4 separate regions of the Homo sapiens genome follow, and all the other regions are linked to region 3. Evidence: promoter capture Hi-C in 16 types of primary human blood cells and fetal thymus (Javierre and others, 2016). All regions are on one chromosome and are shown on one strand. Each heading gives the region's core, a stretch centred on a gene start or on the middle of the fragment in contact. The rest is flanking DNA. Distances are from core to core; before and after follow the strand shown.

Region 1 (2,700 bases), core at 5-2,504, 500 kb before region 3:
CTGATGATTACAGGAATATAAATATGTACATGAGTATACATATCTGTCAAAATTCAAGAGTGTGTATTTCAGATTTAAAGATTTACTAGCATTGAAATTAAAAATAATAGGGAAAAATTAGATATATACTACCTTCCATTTAAATTAGAAGTTAACATTGTTCCTCAAAAATTAAACAGAATTGGGCCAAGCACGGTGGCTCACACCTGTAATCCCAGAACTTTGGGAGGCTTTGGGGTGGATCATGAAGTCAGGAGCTCGATACCAGTCTGGCCAACATAGTGAAACCCCGTTTCTACTAAAAAGACAAAAAATTAGCCAGGCATGGTGGTGGGCACCTGTAATACCAGCTACACGGGAAGCTGAGGCAAGAGAATCACTTGAACCCGGGAGGCAGAGGTTGCAGTGGAAAAAAAAAAAAATGCTTAGCTCATCCATTTAATCAGTGGAGCGGTGGAGCAAAAGCCAGATTACAATAGACAAATAGACTCAGAGGTGAGGATACCAAGACAAGTAAGATAAACTATTCTTTCAGAAAGCTAATCAATGAAAGTCATTCACTATCACAGTAGAAATAGTGAGATTTGGTAACTACTTATCAAAGACTGTGACAGTGGTTTCATGTAGACTTTAGGGTGAATTAGGTAACAACTAAATTACCTTGTAACTCTATAATTCTGTATACACAAGAACCAAAATTAGCAAAAGGAAAAGATTAATGAAGTGAAGAGCATGTACAGCATCTACAAAATCAAAATCACGTCTGAGAACCAAATATATACACAGTAATTAGTCTGTAGAATAAATTATTATATACAGTACAGGAAATGACATATTTCTAGAATATCTACAAAATTCCTAGTTTCTACAACTTTTAAATTCTTTAAGAATTACTGACATATAAAGACTCTAAGGAAAACAACCCAAATGCCCATCAACAGACAGATAAACAAAATGTGATATATACATACACTAGAATATTATTCAGCCTTAAAAAGGAATGAAATTCTGACACATGCTACAACATGAATGAATCTTGAAAATGCTGAGTGGAATAAGCCAGGCAGAAAAGGGCAAATATTGTATGATTCACCTTACATGAAAAACCTAGAATAGTCAAATTCATAGATACAGAAAATAGAATGGAGATTACCAGGATCTGGGGAGGCAAGGGGATGTGGAGATTTATTGTTTAATGGGTACAGTGTTTCTGTTTGGAATGATGAAACACTTCTAGAAATGGACAGTGGTGATGGCTGCACAACTTTGTAAATGTACTTAATGCCACTGACTTACACACTTAAAAATGGTAAATTTTATATATATTTTACAATAATAAATTATTCTATTAAACAATTAGTCTAAAACCAGATATCAAGCTGAGATCAGGTTTTTTACATAGTGAGTATGTTGTCTCAGGTTGTGGACAAAACTCATCCTCAGCTATGGCCACCCCAAAATGGGTAAAGTTTTCAATGAAGACTCCTTTAAGGAAGAAAATAGACTCAAGCAGTAAATCAGTTCGCTCACCTCAATGATGGGTAAGATCTTCAACTGAAAGCCAGAAGAAAGTCACCTAAGGTTACATCATGGGGCAAAAGGAAGAGGACTTCAGTAGCCTCATGTAGCATATTATTTTCTCAGAACCACCAAGTAGTTCTGATCAATAATTTCATTGCCTGTTCTTGAAAAAGTCCTGATATATTTGGACAAAAATACCAAACAGAAATCTGTTTATCCCTTCCACAGTTGGCAGTCATCACCCTCAAAACTAAAGAGTCAAACTTTGAGAGAATATGGACCTCTCAAGCTGAGGAGGAAAGAGTGAGGGAGAGGCACAACATCCATTCTCAGTCAAAATGCCTCCAATTGCTACTTGTTCAAATAACGTCTCTCAGCTTGCTAATCCAACTTCTGTGTGAATTCTTTATGCACTTACCAACTTTCTGCCTTCTATTTCCAAGTATTACACTACTTAACCAGAGCAGTGGTTCTCAAGTGGGAACAATTTTGCCCCAGAAGGAATAACTGGCAACATCTGGAGACACTTTTGGTTGTTACAATTAAGTGCTACTGTCATCTACCAGGTAGAAGCCAGGGATGTTGTTAACCATCCTACAATATACAGGACAACTCCAACAAAGATTTATCTTGCTCAAAATATCATTCATGCCAAAGCTGAAAAAACCTGAACTAGAGGTATAAAAAAAGTCTAAGGATTTCACAGTAAAATGTGACAGCTTTTTATTCAAAGTACTACTTTTTTAATTTGTTAAAGTCCCGTTAATACTTAAGGATGATAGTTCTTCTCTTTTCTTAATACCTCCCTATATTGGGCTGGATGCAGTGGCTCATGCCTGTAATCCCAGTACTTTGGGGGGCCAAAGCAGGTGGATCACTTGAGGTCAGGAGTTCAAGACCAGCCTGGCCAACGTGGTGAAACCCCATCTGTACTAAAAATAAAAAAATTAGCCAGGCATGGTGGTTCATGCCGATAATCCCAGCTACTTGGGAGGCTGAGACAGCAGAATCACTTGAACCCAGGAGGTGGAGGTTGCAGTGAGCTGAGACTGCACCACTGCACTCCAGCCTGGGTGACAGAGCGAGCCTCCGCCTCAAAAACAAACCAACAAACAAACATTATATGAGGTTTAAAAGCCACTGAAAAATTTACATAACCCAGGTGCAATAGCTCATGCC
Region 2 (2,700 bases), core at 128-2,627, 370 kb before region 3:
CTACAGGTGCATGCCACCATGCTCGGCTAATTTTTGAATTTTTTGTTGAGGTGGGGTTTCACCATGTTGCCCAGGTTGGTCTCAATCTCTCAAGCTCAAGCAATCTGCCTACCTCGGCCTCCCAAAGTGTTAGGATTACAGGTGTGAGCCACTGCACCTGGCCTCATATCATATTCTTGGTTGCTAGTAAGCCAAAATTACTGCTCTGTAGGCCTATGGATTTTTTGTTTTTGCATTTGTGATTGAGGTTTGTAACTCTCCCAAGGAGGGATCACCCACTATATTAGTATTTGCACAATTTGGCCTTCTTTGTGAAATTGACTATGCTGCCCATCAATGATAGCAATTTAAAATAGGCCAATATAGCAACTTTTTAATTATATATTTCAAATCAAATTTTTGAAATCACCCACATAAGAAATTTTACATTTTTTCCAAACAAGCAAATTTCAGGCATAAAATATGCGTCATTCTACATTCTACATTTCTTGGTTATAATTAACCTAATAGTATTAAACCTCCAAAATGTTAGGATATCACTGACAATATGCATATCTGTTTAGGGAGCTAATAATCTTAAAAGCTTCTAAAACCTCAAGAGAAAAACTCTTCAGTTTTCTCTCAAAAATACTGAGCAGCTAAATTTGTTTTACAAATTGCCATTCTTCCTTGGTAATCTACAATCTAAACTAAGCCAAACATATTCAAGCCTGTACTCCCTATTTTAAACATCTTTGGGGCTTACAAGTAGGAATTTCTCTAGATGTAGAAAAAAGGCTACCATTTAATTAAACAATTTAGTGAAAATATAATTGCCTTATTCTAAATATTAGTTTTTCAGAGCATATTAAAGAATTCTGGGACTTAAGGAACATTTCTTGTGGGAAAATCTTCAATTTTCAAAAAAAGAATGCTTGGCTAAGAATTTTTTTTTAATAACAAAACAAGTAACCACTTTCTGACATTACAGTATATTTATAGTAAGGTTTTCTTTGATTGACGTGAGTTATGCTTATCGTGATGGTTTTGGAGGGAACAAAAAATATTAATTTCTACCATATATTCCTTAAAGACTTGGGCATTTGTTTTATGTGGCAAGATTCACTGTTTCACTACTTTCTGGGAGACAGAAATATAAATTCATGTTTTATATATAAGTATGTAAGATGTATATTTAAACACACACAGACAACCTGCGTCGGCCTTCATTGTTTACACACTTCTTAATCTCATTGTCCTGTGATGACTGAGGCAACAGTTCAAAGATAGCTTTATATACTATGGGTCAAACAACTCAGCATTCTTTAAAGCATCATCTTTACATGTACAAAATAATACTAAAAATGAATAGCCCATGAACCAACCTACCATTCATTACCCAAGTCACTCACTATGGGGATAGGATAGGACTGAATTACATAAAGGATGGATAATACGACTTTGTATTAAAAGACTAGCTGGGTACACGGTTGGCATTCAAATGCTTGCTCATTAGATTAGTGATCGAGGAGAAGGGTACTCAAGATTTAAACACTTCTAAGACATTTGTCTGGGGTTAAGAAAGTGAATTTTGAAATTGAATTTTGAAACTAGTATCAAGAGCAATGTACTTCAAAACAAAAAATTAGAAACAAAAATGTAAATTAGCCTAACAGAACCAAGCTAGGCGGAGTAAACTCCAATGCATTTGTATACTAAATGGCAGCCAAGCACAAATCCCACACTTGAAAAATTATCAGCTTTTTCCTCTACAGAACACTAATTTTTTTTCCAGTAGAAGAAACCTAAGGCAGAGAACTGTGGATGCTGTACTACAGTACTCAATACTCTAAAATAAACTCAAAGAGAAAAAGGAAATAACAGGCAAACATTCTGGGAAAAAAAAAAAAAGACTCAATGGAGAAAAAGATGAAACAAAGCCTGTAAGTAGGTCACCTCATTGCTTTTGCTAATGCCAAAGTACCAATCCTTATCATTTTTATTACCAAGAGTTACTGAAGGAAAACACCAACCTTTGTGTTGGCTGCAATCCAATTGGAGGTTTCACTGTCATCATCACACTTTTTAATCCATTTCTTTAACCACTGTTTGAAAATAACAACGGTTAGGATACAACAAAAGACTTTTAAAAATAGCAAATTACTTTAGCACTTAACTATAGTCAAGCTTAAATGTAAAAGCCAATGAATAAGATTATCACTAGGCTCACATCCTCTTAAGCCAGGGAAATCCCATAGCTACAATGTCCAGTATATATAAAATCAACCAAAGCAGGATTTTCTTTGGCAGAAGCTGAGTGGGGAACCTAGAGCTTGAAGAGAAGCCCAACTGCAAGGTGTGTATTCCCCTAATTACAAAGCCTGACAAAGAGGTGCCTTAGCCATGGTTATCCTAATAACAATCAGGAGCTGACTTGGCTTATCCTAAGGAATTACCTCTGAATACATGTAATGATCATCTGAAATTAAAAGGATAAAAAAAAATCTATCAATAGATAGATAACAAAATCATCAGCTATGATTTTTAGTCACTAAGTCTTAGAAGTGTGCCATTATTTAAAAATTGAAATGTCAGACAAACTCACCTTACATTTAACAGGATCATGCCAATTTTCTCCACAGTTAAAGCTGTTAAGTGACACAAAGAGTTAATAGAATTAAGGCCTACCTACTGTAAGCAAGTAAATAAGCCAATCATTTC
Region 3 (2,700 bases), core at 187-2,686:
ACTCTGGCCCTGGCCCTTACTTGCTTCTCTAGCTCTCTAGGCCTCTCCAGTTTGCACCTGTCCCCACCCTCCACTCAGCTGTCCTGCAGCAAACACTCCACCCTCCACCTTCCATTTTCCCCCACTACTGCAGCACCTCCAGGCCTGTTGCTATAGAGCCTACCTGTATGTCAATAAACAACAGCTGAAGCACCTGTTTCCTCTCTTTTCTGCTGGGGAGGGGGAGGTGGTTGAACCCTGCCCTCTGAGCAGGCTGGGAATGGCTGCAGCCTCGTGCCCCGCAGTGGGAGCTATGGTGGTGTCACCTGCCATCCTGCCCACCTCCTGGTGCAGAGGCGCTGGGAAAGCAGTAGCTTACTATCTTAGGGTTACAGGTTGCCCCCTTCAGTGCTGCGGGGAGACTTTAATGGCTTACGTGAACCGAAGATGGGAAAGAGCAGGGACAAGGCCTCCCTCCCACTCTGGTAGATAAACCCAAATTGCAAAGTGGCCTTGGCCATGGTTCTTCCACTTTGGTCTTCCTGCATTAGCGTATCCCTTATGGGGGCTGTAGGAGGAGTCAGCTCTGGGCGCCTGAGACTGGGTTTGGCTCCCAGGTCCTCAGTTGTGGACCTAGGCTCCCCTTGGGACCCCTCCTGTTTGCTGGTGCCCTCCCACCATGATGCTGTAGTGCCAAAGGGCTGGGGGAGAGAGTTGGGAATGGGACCAAATCTGGCCTGCGCTTTTCCTCTCCCCTGACCACACTCCCAAGGACCAAGTGTCCTGGTGGGGATGGAAGAGGAAAGGGCCTGCAGGCCAGGCAAAAGCTCATTGTCACACTGAGCGCACGTGCCTCTGCTTCCCTGCCTTTGATTTGTGTCCACCTTCAGCCCCTTTGCAGACTCCTCCAAAAGTGTATTTCCTTGGAGAAACTGCAATGTTAACTCCGGCAAAAGTGCGTGGGAGCATCCTGGCTCCCGGGTTCGTGGTGGTGACTTGGCTGTCAGACCATGGTGTTCAATATCCCCTTTGGTGTTCCCCACTGACGGTAAAATTGAAACTTATCCGGAGCTCTATGTTGGGAAGGGTTAGGTTGGAGAGGGGCCGGAATTGGTTCCTGCAGAGGGACCCAAGCCGCAAGACTAGGACGACAGAAGCGTCCAGAGGGGACACAATACCCTCGACGTGAGGGACAGGAGGTGCCGCGCCAGGCCCTGGCCTCCGGGACCTCCCAGTCCGGGGAACCGAGCGCTAGGATCTGCTCAGAGCTTGGAGCCCCACCTGGGGAAGGTGGGGAAGGAGAGAAGCTGGGGAAGCTGGGGAATGAGGGGGAGGAACGGCCAATGGGCTGTGCCCGGCCCGCGCGACCCGCCAATGGGCGGGCGGGCGGGGCGGGCTCTCGACGGGGCGGGCGGGGTCCGGCGGGCGCTGGGTCCCGGCGCGCGGTCGGGGCGCTGGGTGCAGGCGCCGGGATGACCGCTTTAAGCCGGAGCGAGGCCACCGAGGAGGGCGGGTAAGGGGTTGCGGCCCGGGGGCCGGTCTCGGGGGTTCCGGAGGCCGCCGCGAGGGGCTGCTGCCGCGCGGGGCAGGACGGCTCCTGGGGCCGCGGCAACTCGGCGCGTTCTGCCCACGGGGCAGGCACTTCCCGGCCGCCGGAATGCGGGCTCCGGGCCAGAGCTGCACCGCGCGCCCAGGCGTCTCCCGGGGCCCGCGAGGTGTTCGCACTAGGACCGGGTGTCTTGGCTGAGTCTGCTGCGACCTGGGGGATGAGGGACGGTCCCGGCAGCATCGGGGCAAGGAAGGGCACCCTCCTCGGGACGCCCCGCATGGCCCATCTCCGCCTCGCCACTCTGTTCATCCTTTCATTTATTCATTCATCATTCGTTGCCCGCGGTATCGACTCCCAGTCCTAATTGCCCCCGACCCAAAGGTTGGATTTCCCTGCGTCCCCTGGAGGGCCAGACTGTTTCCTCTCGCCGCCGAATCCGTATTGTAGCGGCCCGCGGCTGCGGGGAGGCAGCTCGGAGCTGTCTCAGCACGACGCGGCCTCCCCCGGGCGCCAGGCCCATCCCGGTCGGGCGGGCTGGGGCCGGTCTCCCGGCCTCGAGACCTGGTCCAAAGTCGCCCTGGGAGAAAGGGATAAGGAGGCAGGGCAGACAGGAGCTGGCGCTGCACGTAACATCCAGAATTGTGGTTTCTGCTGCTTGAGGTCTTAGGGTCCTGGGAGTGACATTGTTTGGGGGAACCTGTCAATTCCTGCCCCGGTCCAGGTTCCAAGCCGCACAGCCTAAGGTCGGGTACAGCCTGGCATCCTCGGCCAGCTAGCACTGGGGCAGGTAGGATGAATGTGTGAGCCTTGTGTCCAAATCAGCCCGAGACACACAGGGATGTGGACCCCAGCGGGACTCCCTCTGCCTTATACTCAGAGGGACTGGTGGGGCTCCACCCCGCTGTCGTCTGTGTCTCTGCTCTGCTTGCCGCCCCACTCACTATGCTTGATTGTTTAAAGGTGCCCCTCCTTGCAGGGGCCAGGCTCCTAGGGAACGAGAGAGGGTACCCTCGCAACCTGATGTCTTCACCCCATGTCCACCTGTAGCCGGCTCTAAAGTCTGGCTCCTTTCAGAGCAAAGACTTATGGCCTTGCTGGGAGAGGTAGAATAGAGGGTGTCTATCCCATTCTTCAGTGAGGAGTCAGTATGCCCCTCCTTCTTTTTTCTTTTT
Region 4 (2,700 bases), core at 163-2,662, 290 kb before region 3:
AAAGTCTATGTAGCCCAGGCTGGTCTCAAACTCCTGGACTCAAGTAATCCTCTGGCCTCAACCTCCCAAAGTTGTGGGATTGCAGGCGTGAGCCACTGCACCTGGGTGATTCCACTGTCTTTAACATCATCACTGTGTCAGTTCACACCCAGCGCCAGGGAACTATACGCAAATAATAAAGCTTCACCTAAAAGGTTGAATATTCAGGGACCTTAAGAAGCTTGTCCTCTTGGAATTCAAACATTTCTTCCTTGCCATCTTCTTACACTACCACTTTGGCATTATCTAGAAATCATAAAATAATTTGTTAGTGCCAGAAGAAAATCTTGTCTGGATCCCTTTGGTTTACCACAAGGAAACTGAGAAAGCAAGCATTTACTAGGCAAGGACAAACTTCAACAAATATTTACTGAGTTTCTTCTGTCAGAGAAGAAACTCTGCTATGAACACAAAGATGAAGGAGTTTTAGTTCTCACCTTCAAAACCCTCATATATAGCTAGAGGCTTGGATATAGGGATAGCTATATCATAACCTCTTATAGGCTATACCAAATATCCATATGAAGCACTATTCAAACATAGATAAGGAAGCACAGGAAAGGTAGAGAAGAACCTGAAAGGAGATGAGCCACCGCAGCCAGCCTGGCAGATTCTCAATAGGAATATATCAGGCAGTTAAGAAGAGAAAGAGAGCTGGGCACGGTGGCTCATGCCTGTAATCCCAACACTTTGGGAGGCTGAGGTGGGAAGATCGTTTGAGTCCAGGAGGTCGAGACCAGTCTAGGCAACATGGCAAAAAATTGTCTCTACCAAAAACAAAACAAACAAACAAAAAATAAATAAATAAAAATAATAATACAAAAAATTAGCCAGGTGTAGTGGCATGCAACTGTAGTCCCAGCTACTCAGGAGGCTGAGGTGGGAGGATCGCTTGAGCCCAGGAGTTCAAGGCTGTAGTGAGCCGTGATCGTGCCACTGCACTCCAGCCTGAGCAACAGAGCAAAAACCCTGTCTCAAGAAAAAAGAGAGACAGAAAGAAAAGAAAAGGTATCAAAAGAAGAGGGACAAGTATGAACAAAAGCATGAAAACACAAATATGTGTTACACAGTAAAGAATTACAAACAGTGCAACTGGGGGTGATAAGGGATGAGGAACAACTGCAGATGAGATTGAAAAAAATTAGCTATGTTAAGATGGGGAAGCCATGAATGCCATAGTAAGGAGTCTGGGATAGACTTTTGACAGAAAGTCTCTTTTTAGCAGGAGGATGACTATTAAATTTGTGTTTGGTAACAGAATGATACACTGGAAGCCCAGAGACAAGGAGGCAAAATAAAAAGGTCCTAAACTAGGATTAGTTAGTAAAAAGGATAGCAACAACATGAAACAAATTTCAGAGGTAACTTGATCAGGGATAACTGGATGTGGAAAATGAAGGAAAAAAAAAAGGATGACTCAAATCCCAAGAATGGTTCTCAGATAAGCCAATAAAAGGGGGAAAAGCCTCAAAGAGAGAAGGTATTAAATTTGAGTTTCAAGTAAGTTTCAGATAAATATCTGTCCAAATGTCACAAATTCCAAGATAAATGTCCACATTAGAGGCTTTCACTTATAAATACTTGCTAAGAATCAGGTAATACTTCTCGGTTTCTAGTTTACACTTTATCCCTAAAAACACTGTACAATTGTGATTAGGAGAGAGGACATATTACCAGGTAATTAGAGCCAGTTAATATCTGAGTTATAAGTATGACAGTTTCAAAGGCAATGGCAAAGCAAGCCTGGGGAGAAGTGTCTAGGATGATAGCTATTCTTAGCATTGTCTAAGCAAATGTCTCAGTAACAAGAAAATGTTACCTAATACTTCATTACCTGCTCTGTTTTTTGCCAAAATGTATTGTCAGGGCACTTCTGACACTTTTAAATGGAACAGAGCAAAAAAGGAAAGAACAATACTACACAACAATATTTACATACAAAAAAAAATAATAATAATAATAGGAGAAAATTCCTGAATATTTGGCATTTTTCATTTAAATCTTCAAACTTTTGGCCTTAAAACCAAAATTGTCAGGCTGGGCACAGTGGTTCATGCCTGTATCTCAGCACTTTGGGAGGCTGAGGAGGGCGGATCACCTGAAGACAGGAGTTCGAGACCAGCCTGGCCAACATGGTGAAACCCTGTCTCTACCAAAAAATACAAAAATTAGCCAGGTGTGGTGATGCATGCCTGTAATCTCAGCTAATTGGGAGGCTGAGGCACGATAATCACTTGAACCCAGGAGGTAGAGGTTGCAGTGAGCCAAGATCATGCCACTGCACTCCAGCCTGGGCCACAGAGACTCTGTCTCAAAAAAAAAAAAAAAAAAAAAGTCATTTTTAAAAATGAAAAAAAAAAAAAGTAGGGCTCTGGAAAGCTGATTTGCCAGAGCAGATGTTAGAGAGCATTAAGAATTTTTTAAGCCACCTTCTGAGATAGCATACTATCCATCACTTAAACACTAACTGGGCATCAACTATACCCCAAGCTGTATCAAATGAGACATTACAGCAGTCCCCTTCATCCTCAGGGAACATGTCCCAAGACCCTCAGTGGAAGCTTGAAAGTGTAGGTAATACCGAACTTATACATGCTATGTTTTTTCAATCTGGTAACAGTGAAGTGACCAGCCGAGGCCAGTAGCAGGTAGGTAGTCTAT

Evidence for each region. Contacts are between HindIII fragments. The CHiCAGO score rates a contact against its expected background, and 5 or more counts as called.
Region 1: a fragment that was not itself captured here is called in contact with the fragment with the promoter of GRAMD2A in region 3 in 1 of 17 cell types (total B cells); the score reaches 5.9 in total B cells.
Region 2: a fragment that was not itself captured here is called in contact with the fragment with the promoter of GRAMD2A in region 3 in 7 of 17 cell types (naive B cells, total B cells, total CD8 T cells and 4 more); the score reaches 7.6 in naive B cells.
Region 4: a fragment that was not itself captured here is called in contact with the fragment with the promoter of GRAMD2A in region 3 in 1 of 17 cell types (neutrophils); the score reaches 6.2 in neutrophils.

What each region holds. Positions count from the first base shown.
Region 1 is chr15:72,696,868-72,699,567 of GRCh38, reverse strand. All of the region lies in intron 2 of BBS4 (Bardet-Biedl syndrome 4), which reads right to left. Among named protein-coding and RNA genes, the nearest start is that of BBS4, 12 kb to the right of the region's middle. The HindIII fragment of the contact is 7,034 bases long and covers 1-2,700 here.
Region 2 is chr15:72,566,490-72,569,189 of GRCh38, reverse strand. ARIH1 (ariadne RBR E3 ubiquitin protein ligase 1) reads right to left here. Exons shown (of 14, transcript NM_005744.5): 8 at 2,585-2,627; 9 at 2,013-2,084. Among named protein-coding and RNA genes, the nearest start is that of MIR630, 19 kb to the left of the region's middle. The HindIII fragment of the contact is 1,583 bases long and covers 586-2,168 here.
Region 3 is chr15:72,196,523-72,199,222 of GRCh38, reverse strand. It overlaps GRAMD2A (GRAM domain containing 2A), which reads left to right and starts at 1,436. Exons shown (of 12, transcript NM_001012642.3): 1 at 1,436-1,492. The coding sequence starts at 1,452. PKM (pyruvate kinase M1/2) reads left to right here. Exons shown (of 11, transcript NM_002654.6): 11 at 1-194. RefSeq lists a silencer at 1,289-1,708 and an enhancer at 1,819-1,998. The HindIII fragment of the contact is 8,362 bases long and covers 1-2,700 here.
Region 4 is chr15:72,486,368-72,489,067 of GRCh38, reverse strand. All of the region lies in intron 1 of ARIH1 (ariadne RBR E3 ubiquitin protein ligase 1), which reads right to left. Among named protein-coding and RNA genes, the nearest start is that of ARIH1, 13 kb to the right of the region's middle. The HindIII fragment of the contact is 2,380 bases long and covers 223-2,602 here.